4 separate regions of the Homo sapiens genome follow, and all the other regions are linked to region 1. The links are contacts of gene promoters, found by promoter capture Hi-C in blood cells and fetal thymus (Javierre and others, 2016). All regions are on one chromosome and are shown on one strand. The core of a region is centred on a gene start or on the middle of the fragment in contact, and the rest is flanking DNA. Distances in the headings are between cores, read along the strand shown.

Region 1 (3,031 bases), core at 211-2,710:
TCAGTCACCTCCTCTAGGAGGTCTTCCCTGATCCCCTCGGCCAGGCGCCATTAAAGCACTCTTCTTCCTAGCACTGATTCTGGCTGTAATTTTACCTGCTTATGTGTTTCATTGATGAATGTCTGGTTCCCCTACTAGAGAAGCTTCATGGGGCACAAAGACCAAGCCTGTTTTGTTCTCCATCCTATTCCTAGAAACTATTTCAGTTAGCTAGCACATAGCAGTGACTGTGAATGAATGAATGAATAATGAATGAGCGAATGGTAAGGAACTGGAGCTTTGGAACCAGATAGATTCTGGGTTCAATACCCGACTCCACCACAGGGGCAAGTCCCCAACCTCCTAAAGCCTGTTTCTCACTGTAAAACTGGGATAATGGCAGGGCCCACCAGAAAGACTTTATTGAAGATAGAATGAGTTGAGGCCCAGAAAGTCTCAGCCCAGAGCCTGGCTCCAGGCAGGTACTGTCAATGTACTGACTGGAACAGTGACAGCTCGGAAATCCTGTCATGTGAGAAATAGTTTTAAAAAATCAGAATGCTTAGCCCCGGGGAAGTAAAGATCAAAGGTAGGGGATAAACCTCTTCCATTACCTGCATATGGACCCTTTCTTGATCCAGCTGTCTCAGAAAGCCATAAAGTCTCTGTCCCTATAGGTGTGCAAAAAGGAGCCGGGAGACCATGACTCGGGCACTGCAGACGGAGCTCCCGCAGGGGTGAGGGCGCCTAAGTGACCTCACGGGTCTCCTCCAACCCGGGGTCCTCCATTTCTAAGCACTTGGAGGCCTCTTGAGCTCTAGTGAGGGAGGAGGCGCAGATGGGAGCGCACGAGTCGGGTGGGCAAAGGCAGCTGGTTGGAGAGAAGCGTAGGCCAAGAGGCCCCAAGGACTAGAGGGACTGCTCAGCGACTCTGGGAGCAGAGAGGGGGCGCTTAAAGCCAACAGATGGCGCGGGCTCACCTAGGCCGAGCGCCCGCTCGCCCGCCCGGGCTTCCCGGGAGCGTTACCTCGCTCTGCCTGAGGCGCGGGGCGGACGAGACGCTGGGGGCCCCATCCCCCTGCGCGCCCCTCTGCGGGACGGCTGGCGGCCTGGCGGGGCACTGCTCTGTCTCGCACCTGGGGCCTCTTCCGCGGGCTTCCTCCCTGCCCCTTTGGGGGATTCGTAGAGTTGCCACAGCAGCCGGTGCCATGACATCGGCAGAGGGCAGCTTCGCCAGCACTGAAATATTCATGCCCTGAGCGCCCGGCGGGGCTCGGCGCCGCTCCCGGGGGTCCGGGCGGGGCCGGGCGGGAGCTCGGGGGTCCTGGCGGCCTGAGGGGTGGGGGAGCGCCGAGCGCGGGCGGGCGGGCGGGGGCCGGGCGAGGCGGGAGGTGAGGGAGGGAGCTGCGGGAGGCGGGGTCTGGACGGCGGGGGCCGAGCGGGGCGGGGGCCGAGCGGGGCGGGGGAAGCAAGGGAAAGTTGATCGCGGACTTGAGCGGCGGCGGCGGCTCGGGAGAGAGGGACGCGGGCTGCAGGCGCGATGCTTGGCTAGAGGACGCGTCCGACGGCGGCCGGACGCTGAGGTGGTCGGGGCTAGTCAGCCCGGCCTGGGCATGGAGCGCGGGGTGGCAGAGCCTCTGGACGTTTGGGGCGCGCCCAGTCCGAGCCCCCGGCGCGCCTGAAGTTGCGAGCGGCGAGCGGCGAGCGGCGAGCGGCCCGCGGAGACCCAGGAGCTGCCGGCACGCCGCGGATGAGCCTTCGCGCCGGCGGGAAGACGCGGCGGTGGCCAGGGCCAGAGCAGGCGGCCCGCGGGGGCCGATCCGGCGGAGAGCAGAGCCCGAGGCGAGGCGAGGCGCGGCGCCGCTGCACACACGCACACGGTACCCGGAGCCACGCACCGCCTCTTCCCTCCTCGCTTCCCTCTCCTTCCCCTCGCCGTTCGCCCGCCGCGCGGCGGGGAAGTTGGTGGTGACCGCGGCTGCCGAACCACTTGTTCCCAGCGCGGCCATCGCCCGTGGCGGGCGCTCGCGGCATCCTTCGGTCCCAGGCCCCTGGCCCTAGCCTCGCGCCCCGCTCCGAGCTCCCCGACGCGCGGCAACTTTGATTCCTGGGAACTCGAATTCCATTCGCGTTGGCCTTGGGAGGACAGGCATCCCATCCCCCATCCCCGGTCCTGGGACCGCGAACATTTGGGGGCTTTGCTCTCGGCGCTACGGAGAGGGTCCAGGTCTGGGGTGGAGAGATTTTCGAGAGTGGAGCGCGTTGGGATCCAATCCCCTCCCCTTCTGAGCCCTGGGTCCCCATTTGGACAGTGGGGATGGGGTGGGGCGCACCCCTACTGCGGGCTGGGCAGAGGCGCTGAGGGGAACTAAAGGCACGTAGTTCTCCCCTCCCCTCATCAAGTCCCTGTGCCCGCGGGAGACCCCAGGGGACTTACACATCCTCCCAAATTCGGTCCAGCTATGGGAAGACGCGCCCCTCGAGGAGCCGGGAGCCTTTTGCGGCTCTCGCTTCGCCTTCCTGGCCCTGGAACTGGTCCGCTACGAGCGGTGCTGGCTGCCCCCAGGAGCTGGCACCCGGGAGCACTGCCCCTCATCTCCACCGTAGGTCAGCCCAGGACTCGAGCAGAGCCCGCGTGTTCCAAGGCAGTGACGGCGCCAGCCGGCGGGGACTCTGCCTGGCTTTCTCGGAGCGGGCACCTAGAGAGGCTGCCTCCGTGCTGTGAGCGGAGATCCGATGCCAGCCGCCGCCCCACTGCGACCCCAGCCCCAGCCCTAGTGCTGTCAGCGGTCCACTGGGAGGAAATTAGCCTTTCCTCGGTAGTAATACTCCCCCATCCTCCCTAGTAATTCAGAAAGCAGAGCCTTCTTTTTCTACGTCCTTTGCCCTCTCAGACCAGAGCTGGCATTGACATTGACCTCGCCTTCCAGCCCCTTGGGAAGTGCCCCAACCCTAATTTGGATTTTGAAATAAGCTAGAGAGACACAGGAGTGTGTGTGTGTGTGTGTGTGTGTGTGTGTGTGTGTGTGTGTGTGTGTTGGGTGGAGTCAGA
Region 2 (3,114 bases), core at 355-2,854, 280 kb after region 1:
AGCCACCGTGCCTAGCCTGTGCTTTCTTCTTGACCAACCCCCTAGGGAACCCACTGCAAGAGGGGCTGACCTTCTATCCGCAAAGAATACTGCACAGATTTCAGAGTCAAATTCTTGGTCTGTGTTGGGCCTTCTCTGAGCAACGCCTCATATCCTTGGTACCAAGTGGGGCTTTATACACAGTGTCTGTCTCAGCTTAAATATTAGGTCAGAATTTAGCAAAAGATCCCACCCCCCGACCCATCCACTGCCATCTCCCTTAGCAAGGGCATTGAGTGGGGAGCAGTTCCCTGTGTCAGGACCTCCTCCAAGCCCTTTAACGACTGACTAGAATCAGGAAGTGCTGCAGCTGGAAGGAGCCACAGAGACCATGGAGTGCAACCCCATTTTACAGAAGGGGAACCCAGAGGGGAGGAGGCTTGCCCACGAAGACATAGTCGGGTAGCAGAGCCAGGTCTAGTCCCGGAATGCTATTCTCCAAGTGCTTCCTGCAGCAAGTCCCCCACTAGGCTTCAGTGACCTTTAACCAGAGACTTTTAAATGTCCCCCCTTCCCCATGCTGCCTACCCCAAGGGATGGGACCCAGAGCCTCCATTTGGAACTTGTTTCTGAAGCAGGTAGGGATGAAGGCAAGGCTGGAAGGGTGAGCACAGGGGATACCAAGAAGAACAGAACATGTGCCCGCCCAGCCTGGCCACGGCCCCCCGTACAACCCTGTCCTGCCCTGCCCTCCCTGCTCAGCTCCAGGTGTACCCGGAGTGGTGGGGACCACTGGAGGCTCTAGAGTGAGGGACAACCTGGAAAGAAGCTTATTAATTCAGCTCCCAGAGAAGACAGTCAAGGGGTAGAGGGATCCCTGGCCCCACTCCAGGTGCCTTCTTTCCTCCTTGCTTTCATGCAACATGCATGGATTAGACACCCACTGTGGCCAAATACTGTGTTGGCCTGTAGGTATGCAGCAGCAATCAAGAAACAAGGTTCCTGCTCACATGAAGCTGACGGTCTAAGTGAGGGAGGCAGAAATTAGATAAGAAATTACCACTGGGTGTAAGGGGACCAATGGGGTATGCAACCCTAGGGCCCTAACCGGCTCCGGGAGTCAGGGAGGGCATCTGCAGGTGGGGGTGTTCCAGCTGGGGTTGGGGGTGGGAGGTAATTGTGTCTCAGCCTCTGGGAAGGCCCGGCCTCTGCATTATTCCTGCGCCTCCCACCTGCCCTCTAGATTCCCCAGGCTGCCTCCACACCCAGCACATGGAGGGGAGCAGGGCGTCTGCTGGGAGCCAGAGTGCGGCCTCCAGTTGAAGCACAAGGGGTGCCTCCTGGCGTCCTGGGCCAGGACAAGACCCAGGGCTGGATCACCCAAAAAAGGAGCTGTGAACAGGGCCAGTCTTCCCCACCCTCCCAGCTGCCCACCCTCTTCTGGCCCCCAGTCTCCTGCAGGCTCACGGCCCTTGTCTGCCCTCTTCCTTTCAGGCAACAGATGAAGACTCCCCTCCCAACAACCAGATCACCTACAGCATTGTCAGTGCATCTGCCTTTGGCAGCTACTTCGACATCAGCCTGTACGAGGGCTATGGAGGTAGGTGTGGGGCAGAACTCGGGGCCCAGCCAGGAGGAGGGCTGGGGGGCTCTCTGCACTCACACCTCCCTTGTGGGGATGAGGCGGGCACTCCTTGTCTCCCTGACACTCTGGGCTACTCAGGAAGCTGCCCGGAGCACCTGGGGTGGAGCAGGATGTGGCCTGAGTCGCCCTTCCGTAGGGTCAACATCTGTGTCCCTCATCAGCAGGATCTCTCTCTGGTTCTTAGGCCATGGCCAGCCCTGCAATCGAGCCAGAAGTGTGATGTTAACAGAATCTCTGGGGTTCTCTGTTTCTTACCAAGGCTGCAGGCAGGTCCGTGGGATGGAAGCTCTTTAGCCAAGACTCCCTACTTTTTGGGCGGCCGTGTGGGACCAGGCACTCTGCACCATGCCCTGCTGCCTGCTGTGGGTCCCCATCCCTAGAGCCCTGGTAGGAAATAGCAGCAACCTCAAGCTCCAAGATCCCAAGAGAGACTATTTTGTTTTTCAGATAAAGCAGCTAAGGCCCAGAGACAGGGAGCAACTTGCCTGAGCTCACCCTGCAAAGCTGCTGAGCTTGGCACCAAGTCCCCGTGTGGTCTGGCCCTTGGTTGCCTTGCGAGCCTCAGCTCTCAGCAGCCCTTGCCCCACCAGAGTCCAGCCTCTTTGAACACTTTGACACTGTCTCCCCTTACTGGTGTTCACCCCCATGTCTTTGCAGAGTTTGTTCCTTCTGCCAGGAAAGCCCTTCCTCCTTGCCCCTTGGTCCTGCCTCCCTTTGGCTGTCCAGTGTGTAGCCCCTGGCTAGCTTTAAGGGCTCATTTAACACCTCCTCCTTTGGGAAGCTTCTCTGATTCCTGGAGCCTGGGTTAGGTGCCCCCAGGGCAGAAGGAATCGATGTGCGTTGAGTGACTCTGGGTCCAGTGGTCATTCCTCCCACTACCCCACAGTTAGTTCAGTTCAGAGAAATGCCACTGTAGAAATTGCAGTTCTGACCAGCGCGGTGGCTCACGTCTGTAATCCCAGCACTTTGGGAGGCCGAGACCGGCGGATCAATTGAGGTCAGGAGTTTGAGACCAGCCTGGCCAACATGGTGAAACCCTGTCTCTACTAAAAATACAAAAATTGGCCAGGCGTGGTGGTGTGCACCTGTAATCCCAGATACTCGGAAGGCTGAGGCAGGAGAATCACTTGAACCTGGGAGGCGGAGGTTGCAGGGAGCCCAGGTTGCACCACTGCACTCCAGCCTGGTGACAGAGTGACACTCCGTCTCAAAAAAAAAAAAAAAAAGAAAAAGAAATTGCATTCTCTATGAAATCTACATCCCTCTGTCTTTCTTTTTTTTTTTTCTTTTTCTTTTTTTTTTTTTTTTTGAGACAGAGTTTTACTCTGTCACCCAGGCTGGAGTGCAGTGGCTCGATCTCGGCTCATTGCAACCTCCGCCTTGTGGGTTCATACAATTCTCCAGCCTCAGCCTCCCGAGTAGCTGGGATTACAGTCGTGCCACCACGCCCAGCTAATTTTTGTATTTCTAGTAGAGATGGGGTTTTGCTA
Region 3 (3,047 bases), core at 159-2,658, 500 kb after region 1:
TCGTAAAAATATGTTTATGTTTACATGTAATGAGTTCATTATTACTTTTTGATAAATTAATAAATATCTGGGTCCTCAATAATTCTTTTAAAAATTTTTTTATAATTTAAAATAGAGATGAGGGCTGGGCTCGGTGTCTCGCGCCTGTAATCCCAGCACTTTGGGAGGCCAAGGTGGGCAGATCACTTGAGGTCAGGAGTTCAAGAACAGCCTGGCCAACATGGTGAAACTCTGTCTCTACTAAAAATACAAAAATTAGCCGGGCGTGGTGGCTCATGCCTGTAAACCCAGCTACTCGGAGGCTGAGGCAGGAGAATCGCTTGAAACCAGGGGGCGGAGGTTGCAGTGAGGGGAGATCACCCCCCTGCACTCCAGCCTGGGCGACAGAGCAAGACTCCTTTTCAAAAAAACAAACATGTAGCAATGAAGCCATTAAAATAATTTATTTTTTATTTCTTTTTCTTTTTGTATGAATCGACTTTGGATAAGAAAAAAATCTACTTTTTAAAGAGCTGGGTTTGTGTGGTGGGACACCTATTGGGTGCAACAATGTGGAGAACACTGCCCTCTGGCGGTCACTCCCAGTATAGTACCAGAGAGGTGGGGAAGCTTCCCTTGCTATTCTAGGACTGACCATGAGACGGCAGAAGAATACAGTATTTGCTTCTTTTCTATTTCTATTATACTTGCTTTTCTTTTTCTTTTCTATTTCTATTTGCTTCTTTTCTATTTTCTGTTCCTTCTTTTCTATTTTTTTAAATTTAAGTGTAGCTAAGGGGACTCACTATGTTGCCCAGGCTGATCCCCGACTCCTCGGGTCAAGTGACCCTCTCACCTTGGTCTCTCAAAGTGCTGGAATTATGGGCATGAGCCACCATGCCTGGCCTAAAACCCTGTTCCTAATCTCTAGGTTGGTCCTCAAAGCCTCACACTCAGCCGGGTGCCCAGGGATTGGGGCAGGAGTGACCTCACAGAGCTGCCCACAGTAATGATGCCTGAAGTGCTCCAGCTAGCAGGCTAAGCCTTGTCTTCTCTGCCTCCACAGCAACTCATAGCAGCCCTAGGGAAGGCCACATCCCAGACCCCTAAACCCAGAGAGACAGAACGCAGACCTGGGTGGCAAGGACTCAGTAAGTTATTGAGTGCCAAACCGGGCCACCACTGTGCTTGGCTTTAGGAAAACTTGACATCTATAAAACTTTTAATCTCTAGTAGGTGCTCAAAAAAGCCATTCACTCTTTCATGTAACCAAGAAAAGATGTTTGAGCACCTGCAAAGTGCCAGGCACTGTCCTAGTCACTGAGGACACAGTGAGAAGCAAAAGGGGCCCAGGTCCTGCCCACATGGGACTTATAATTTGGTGAGGGAACAAAAAAAATTTAGTCTCAAAAAACCAAAGTTTGGTTAGATGCTGTGAAAAAGGATGGGGTTCTTTAAGGGCACCTGAGAGAGGGGTCTTGTTTTTCCTGGAAGCCAAAAAGAAGCATAAAGGTTGATACGGTTTGGACGTTTGTCCTCCAAATCTCATGTTGAAATGTGATTCCTGGCTGGGCATGGTGGTTCATGCCTGTAATCCCAGCACTTTGAGAGGCCAAGGCAGGCAGATCACTTGAGGTCAGGAGTTCGAGGCCAGCATGGACAACATGGTGAATCCCCATCTATACTAAAAATACAAAACTTAGCTGGGCATGGTGGCACGTGTCTGTAATCCCAGCTACTCAGGAGGCTGAGGGAGGACAATAGCTTGAGCCTGGGAGACAGAGGTTGCAGTGAGCCGAGATTGTAGTGAGCCGAGATTGTGCCACTGCTCTCCAGCCTGGCTGACAGAGCAAGACTCTGTCTCAAAACAAAACAAACAAACAAAACTACCTCTTAACTTAGTCCCCTCGCATTTTTTTTTTTTTTTTTTTGAAACAGAGTCTCAGTCTGTTACCCAGGCTGGTGTGCATGCAGTGGCACAATCATGGCTCACCTTCCACCACAGACTACAAACATGTGCCACCACATCCGACTAAGTTTTTTTTGTTTTTTTTGTTTTTTGGGGTTTTTTTTTTTTTTTTTGTAGAGATGGGGATCTCACCATGTTGCCCAGTCTGGTCTCAAGCTCCCAAGCTCAAGTGATCCTCTCATTTCGGCCCCCTAATGTATTGTCATTCCAGCCATGAGCCATGGTGCCCAGCATCTCCTGCTTTTTAACTTTGTTTTTAAAAGCTTCTTGATTTTTGTTTCAATTTAATACTGTCTTGGCAACTTTTTAACTTTTTGTTGTTTAGTCTCACTCTCTTGCCCAGGCTGGAATGCAGTGGCCAGATCTCAGCTCACTGCAACCTCCACCTCCCAGGTTCAAGCGATTCTCTTGCCTCAGCCTCCCGAGCAGCTGGGATTACAGGTGCCCACCACCATGCCCAACTAATTTTTGCAATTTTAGTAGAGACGGAGTTTCACCATGTTGGCCAGGCTGGTCTCCAACTCCTGACCTCAGGTGATTCACCCATCTCGGCCTCCCAAGGTGCTGGGATTACAGGCATGAGCCACTGCGCCCAGCCCAATTCTGCTATTAAAGGACTCTGATGCATTCTTCAGTATGCCAATTGCATTTTTCAGCTCCAGAAATTCTGCTCTGGATGTTTTTTAATTATTTCAATCCCTTTGTTAAATGTATCTGATAGAATTCTGAATTCCTTCTCTGTGTTATTTTGAATTTCTTTGAGTTTCCTCAAACAGAATTCTGTCTGAAAGGTCAGAGCTCTGTTTCTCCAGGATTGGTCCCTGGTGTCTAATTTGGTTCATTTGGGGAGGTCATGTTTTCCTGGGTCATGCTGCTAGCAGATGTTCTTCGGTGTCTGGGCATTGAAGAGTTCAGTATTTATTGCAGTCTTCATTGTCTAGCCTTAGTTGTCTTTTTTTTTTTTTTTTTTTTTTTTGAGATCAAGTCTCACTTTGTCACCCAGGCTGGAGTGCAGTGGTGCGATCTCGGCTCACTGCAACCTCTGCCTTCCGGGTTCAAGCAATTCTCTGCCTTAGCCTCCCAAGTAGCTAGGATTACA
Region 4 (3,088 bases), core at 374-2,873, 260 kb after region 1:
CCTGCTGCAGGGGGTGGGGCATGGCAGAAATGGGCAGAAGATGGACTTCAGACAAGACAGGCTTCTTCCCCAGTCGGAGGAAGCCAAGAAAGGAGAGGCCCTGAAAAGTCCTGACTGGGCAGGTGTGGGGCCCCAGGACCAGCTTGTGGTTTGCTGAGCCGTGGGTAGAGCTCCACCTCTCAGCTCCAGACAGACAGGGCTGGCTGGAGGTGGCCTAAAAGCCTGCTCCTCTCTCATCTCCCTGCCCCCTCTTCCCAGCCTGTCCTTGGGAGGCTGGCAGCATCTTGGGCAGGGCCACAAGACATCCAGGGAGTCCCTGCAATCCTGTCTTACTATGAGCTGGTCACTCCTTCTCTGGGACTTGGCTTTTTTCCTATGAAATGGGAAAGTAGTGCCTGCGCAGCCTGCAGTGCTGGGTTGTTGGGAGACCCATTGCAGTGATGTGGTGTAAACAGGTAAGATTTACAGATGGCAGGAGTGGGTATTTTCATCACTGGCCTTCAGGGTCTCACCTGGCTGCCCACCAGCCCTTCGGCCTGTGGACAAGCCCAGCTCTGCCGCAGTGGACCCTGGACAAGACACCGGGCCTCAGTTTCCTCTTCTGTGAGCTGGGGGAGATAACCTGCTAGGAGCCTACCTTGGAGGATTGTTGTGAGAATCAAATGAAATGATTCATGAAGACACAGCACAGAGGCTGGCTAGGAACACACGCTGGAAATGTCAGCAAGTCATGCCTGGCCTCCTGGCTGAGCCTCCAGGGAGCACGGGCCCTGGGCAAGGACACCACCCTCAGAGCTGTGGCCCTGCCTCAGGCAGCCATGTGACCTTGGCCAGTCACTGAACCTCTGGGTCCCAGTGAGATGACTGGGCCAGGGGCTGGTTCAGGGCCTTCTGGGTTGGTGAGGCTTTAATTCCAATTTGCACTGTCCAAGGAGAAAGGGGAGCCATTCTTGCTGTTTAGTTTCATGCCCAGCAACATGAACGTGCCACCCACCCTGCAAGGGTCCCCACCCACCCACTGGCCTCTAGAGCCCGTCTCCTGCCCTACCCCTCCTCTCTCAGCTCCCATCTGGAAGTCTCAGGAAGATTCCCCAGGACTTCACTTCCCCCTCCTAGAGCTAACTGGCTTTTCCTCCTGGTCCAGCCCAGCCTCCCTCTCCTGCCACATCAGCAGACAGCCCTGCTGCATCAATGTCAGCCCCATTGCTGTTTGTCCCCATCTCTCCTTCCCCTCCCACCCACAGCATTGACCCCACAAGGAAAAGGTGGGTATGATGTCATTGCCCTGGGCTGGCCGTGTTGAAGGCAAGCTTCAATCCTGGAGGACTTCAAATGCAGCAGGCCTGTTCCACCAGCTGTAAGGCCACAGGGCCTCTCCCTCTGCTCTGTAACTGTCAGGACACCCCCAGCCTTCAGGCTCAGAGATCACCCCTGTCCCTCCATGCTGCTGAATCCAAGAACTCTAACATGGGTTCTACTCAAGGTGCTGGAAACCTAATAGCCCAGCCAGATGATCCAGGAAAGCCAGTTCACTGCCTGTCTTAGTCTTGGTGCTCCCTGGGGCAAACCCCAGTTCCTCCCTGGTCCCTCTGCCCCCAGCAGAAGGACATGTTGCTCTGCAACATCTGTGGAAGCCTCTCAGCTGTATCTATCTACTACTGCAGGAGGGAACCTTGCTATAGGAGCAAGGCTTTGGAACCAGAAACCCAGCTTCAAATTCTGGCTCTGCTGCCTGCTGTCTCTATGGCCCTGGGCAGGTGCTTAGCTGTGTCCTGACCCTCAGTCTCCAGAGTGTGCTGTAGAGAGAATAATAATAATACTTATCCCACAATGAAGAGAGACGGGGCATTTAAAGCACTTTGTGTATTAGAAGGCACTGGGTAAATGGCAGGTGTCTTATCTGGGAGTCGGTGGAACTTCAGAGAGCATTGGTATTTAAGCTTGGGTCTCTTGGTTCCTAGATTTTCTGCCTTTGGCTGTGACTTCCCTAGACTCTGGGTCCTCTCAGTTGGTGCGTTGGTTGAGTTTTTGTCTGTGCTCAACCCCGGGAAGCCAACACACTGAGTCTAGCCTCAAGGAACAGAACACAGAGAAAGGTTAAACAAGCTTGCAGGTGAGAACCAAGCCTCTTCGGAGGGACGCAGACGATAGTTGCTGCCAGGTGTGCGACCTGTGCGGTGGTCTGGGGACATGGACTCGGAAGGGCCCCAAACTTGGTGGAATGCTCTGCTGTCACCATCTTGAAATTCTGATAATTTCTGAACAGAGGCCCTGCGTGCTCATGTTACTCTGGGCCCTGCAGCTTACGTGGCTTGCCCTGGCACAGGAGTTTATCATTCTCTGCCCAAATAAACTCAGTGGCTCTCCACGGTTTTCATCGATCCCTACATTCAGTCAACAGTCAGCAAAGGCTGAAGTGCTGGGGCCTTCTGTTCCCACAGAGCTTGCTTCAGTTCTTATTGCCGCATAAGAAACCACCCAAACTTAGTGGCATAAAGCAATAGCTGTTTTTAATACAAATGGCTCATGGATTTGGTGGGTCAGGAATACAGAAAGGGTGCGGTAGGGAGGCCTTCTCTTTCCTTGGGATCTGAGGTGACTCGACCAGCTGGAGTCTGGAAACAGAGGGCCCGGAGGATCCATTCTGATGGTGTTCTCACCCTGCCACGACTGTGCCCTTGGCTCATTTGGCTGAAGGGTGAGTGCAGCCGGACTGTGGCCCAAGCACCCACATGTAGCCTCCCCACGTGTCCGGACATCTCCCAGCATGGGAGTTCTGAGCAGGCGCACCCCCAGGGAGGCCTCTGGGGGAGGAGTGTCCCAAGAGATCCAGACAGAAGCTGCGTGGCGTTTTTCAACCCAGCCTCCAAGTCACACTGCATCATTTCTGCTGAATTCTGTTGGTTTTAAGTCACCAGGGCAAGTCCAGATTCAAGGAGAGAGGACGTAGATCTCCCCAGCTGTCAATGGAGAGAACGTCCAAGAATTTACACACACGTAAATGTCATAGAAACACTCAGAGGTCACTTTTCCATACCACTTCTGAGCAGTCATGCATGAGCACAGTGCCATGATGCCACAATTTCCC

The links. The method cuts DNA at HindIII sites, captures the fragments that hold promoters and counts their contacts. A CHiCAGO score of 5 or more calls a contact.
Region 2: a contact is called between a fragment that was not itself captured here and the fragment with the promoter of CDH23 in region 1, in 5 of 17 cell types (endothelial precursors, megakaryocytes, total CD4 T cells and 2 more). The highest score is 6.4, in endothelial precursors.
Region 3: a fragment that was not itself captured here is called in contact with the fragment with the promoter of CDH23 in region 1 in 7 of 17 cell types (naive B cells, erythroblasts, total B cells and 4 more); the score reaches 6.3 in naive B cells.
Region 4: a fragment that was not itself captured here is called in contact with the fragment with the promoter of CDH23 in region 1 in 3 of 17 cell types (endothelial precursors, megakaryocytes and M2 macrophages); the score reaches 7.0 in endothelial precursors.

What each region holds. Positions count from the first base shown.
Region 1 is chr10:71,395,460-71,398,490 of GRCh38, forward strand. It overlaps CDH23 (cadherin related 23), which reads left to right and starts at 1,461. Exons shown (of 70, transcript NM_022124.6): 1 at 1,461-1,859. RefSeq lists a silencer at 980-1,069 and an enhancer at 1,753-2,264. The HindIII fragment of the contact is 8,970 bases long and covers 142-3,031 here.
Region 2 is chr10:71,677,914-71,681,027 of GRCh38, forward strand. CDH23 (cadherin related 23) reads left to right here. Exons shown (of 70, transcript NM_022124.6): 17 at 1,474-1,579. Among named protein-coding and RNA genes, the nearest start is that of C10orf105, 40 kb to the right of the region's middle. The HindIII fragment of the contact is 1,597 bases long and covers 807-2,403 here.
Region 3 is chr10:71,896,000-71,899,046 of GRCh38, forward strand. No RefSeq gene overlaps it. Among named protein-coding and RNA genes, the nearest start is that of LINC03139, 19 kb to the left of the region's middle. The HindIII fragment of the contact is 1,602 bases long and covers 608-2,209 here.
Region 4 is chr10:71,651,998-71,655,085 of GRCh38, forward strand. The region is part of intron 14 of CDH23 (cadherin related 23); the gene reads left to right. Among named protein-coding and RNA genes, the nearest start is that of C10orf105, 66 kb to the right of the region's middle. The HindIII fragment of the contact is 630 bases long and covers 1,309-1,938 here.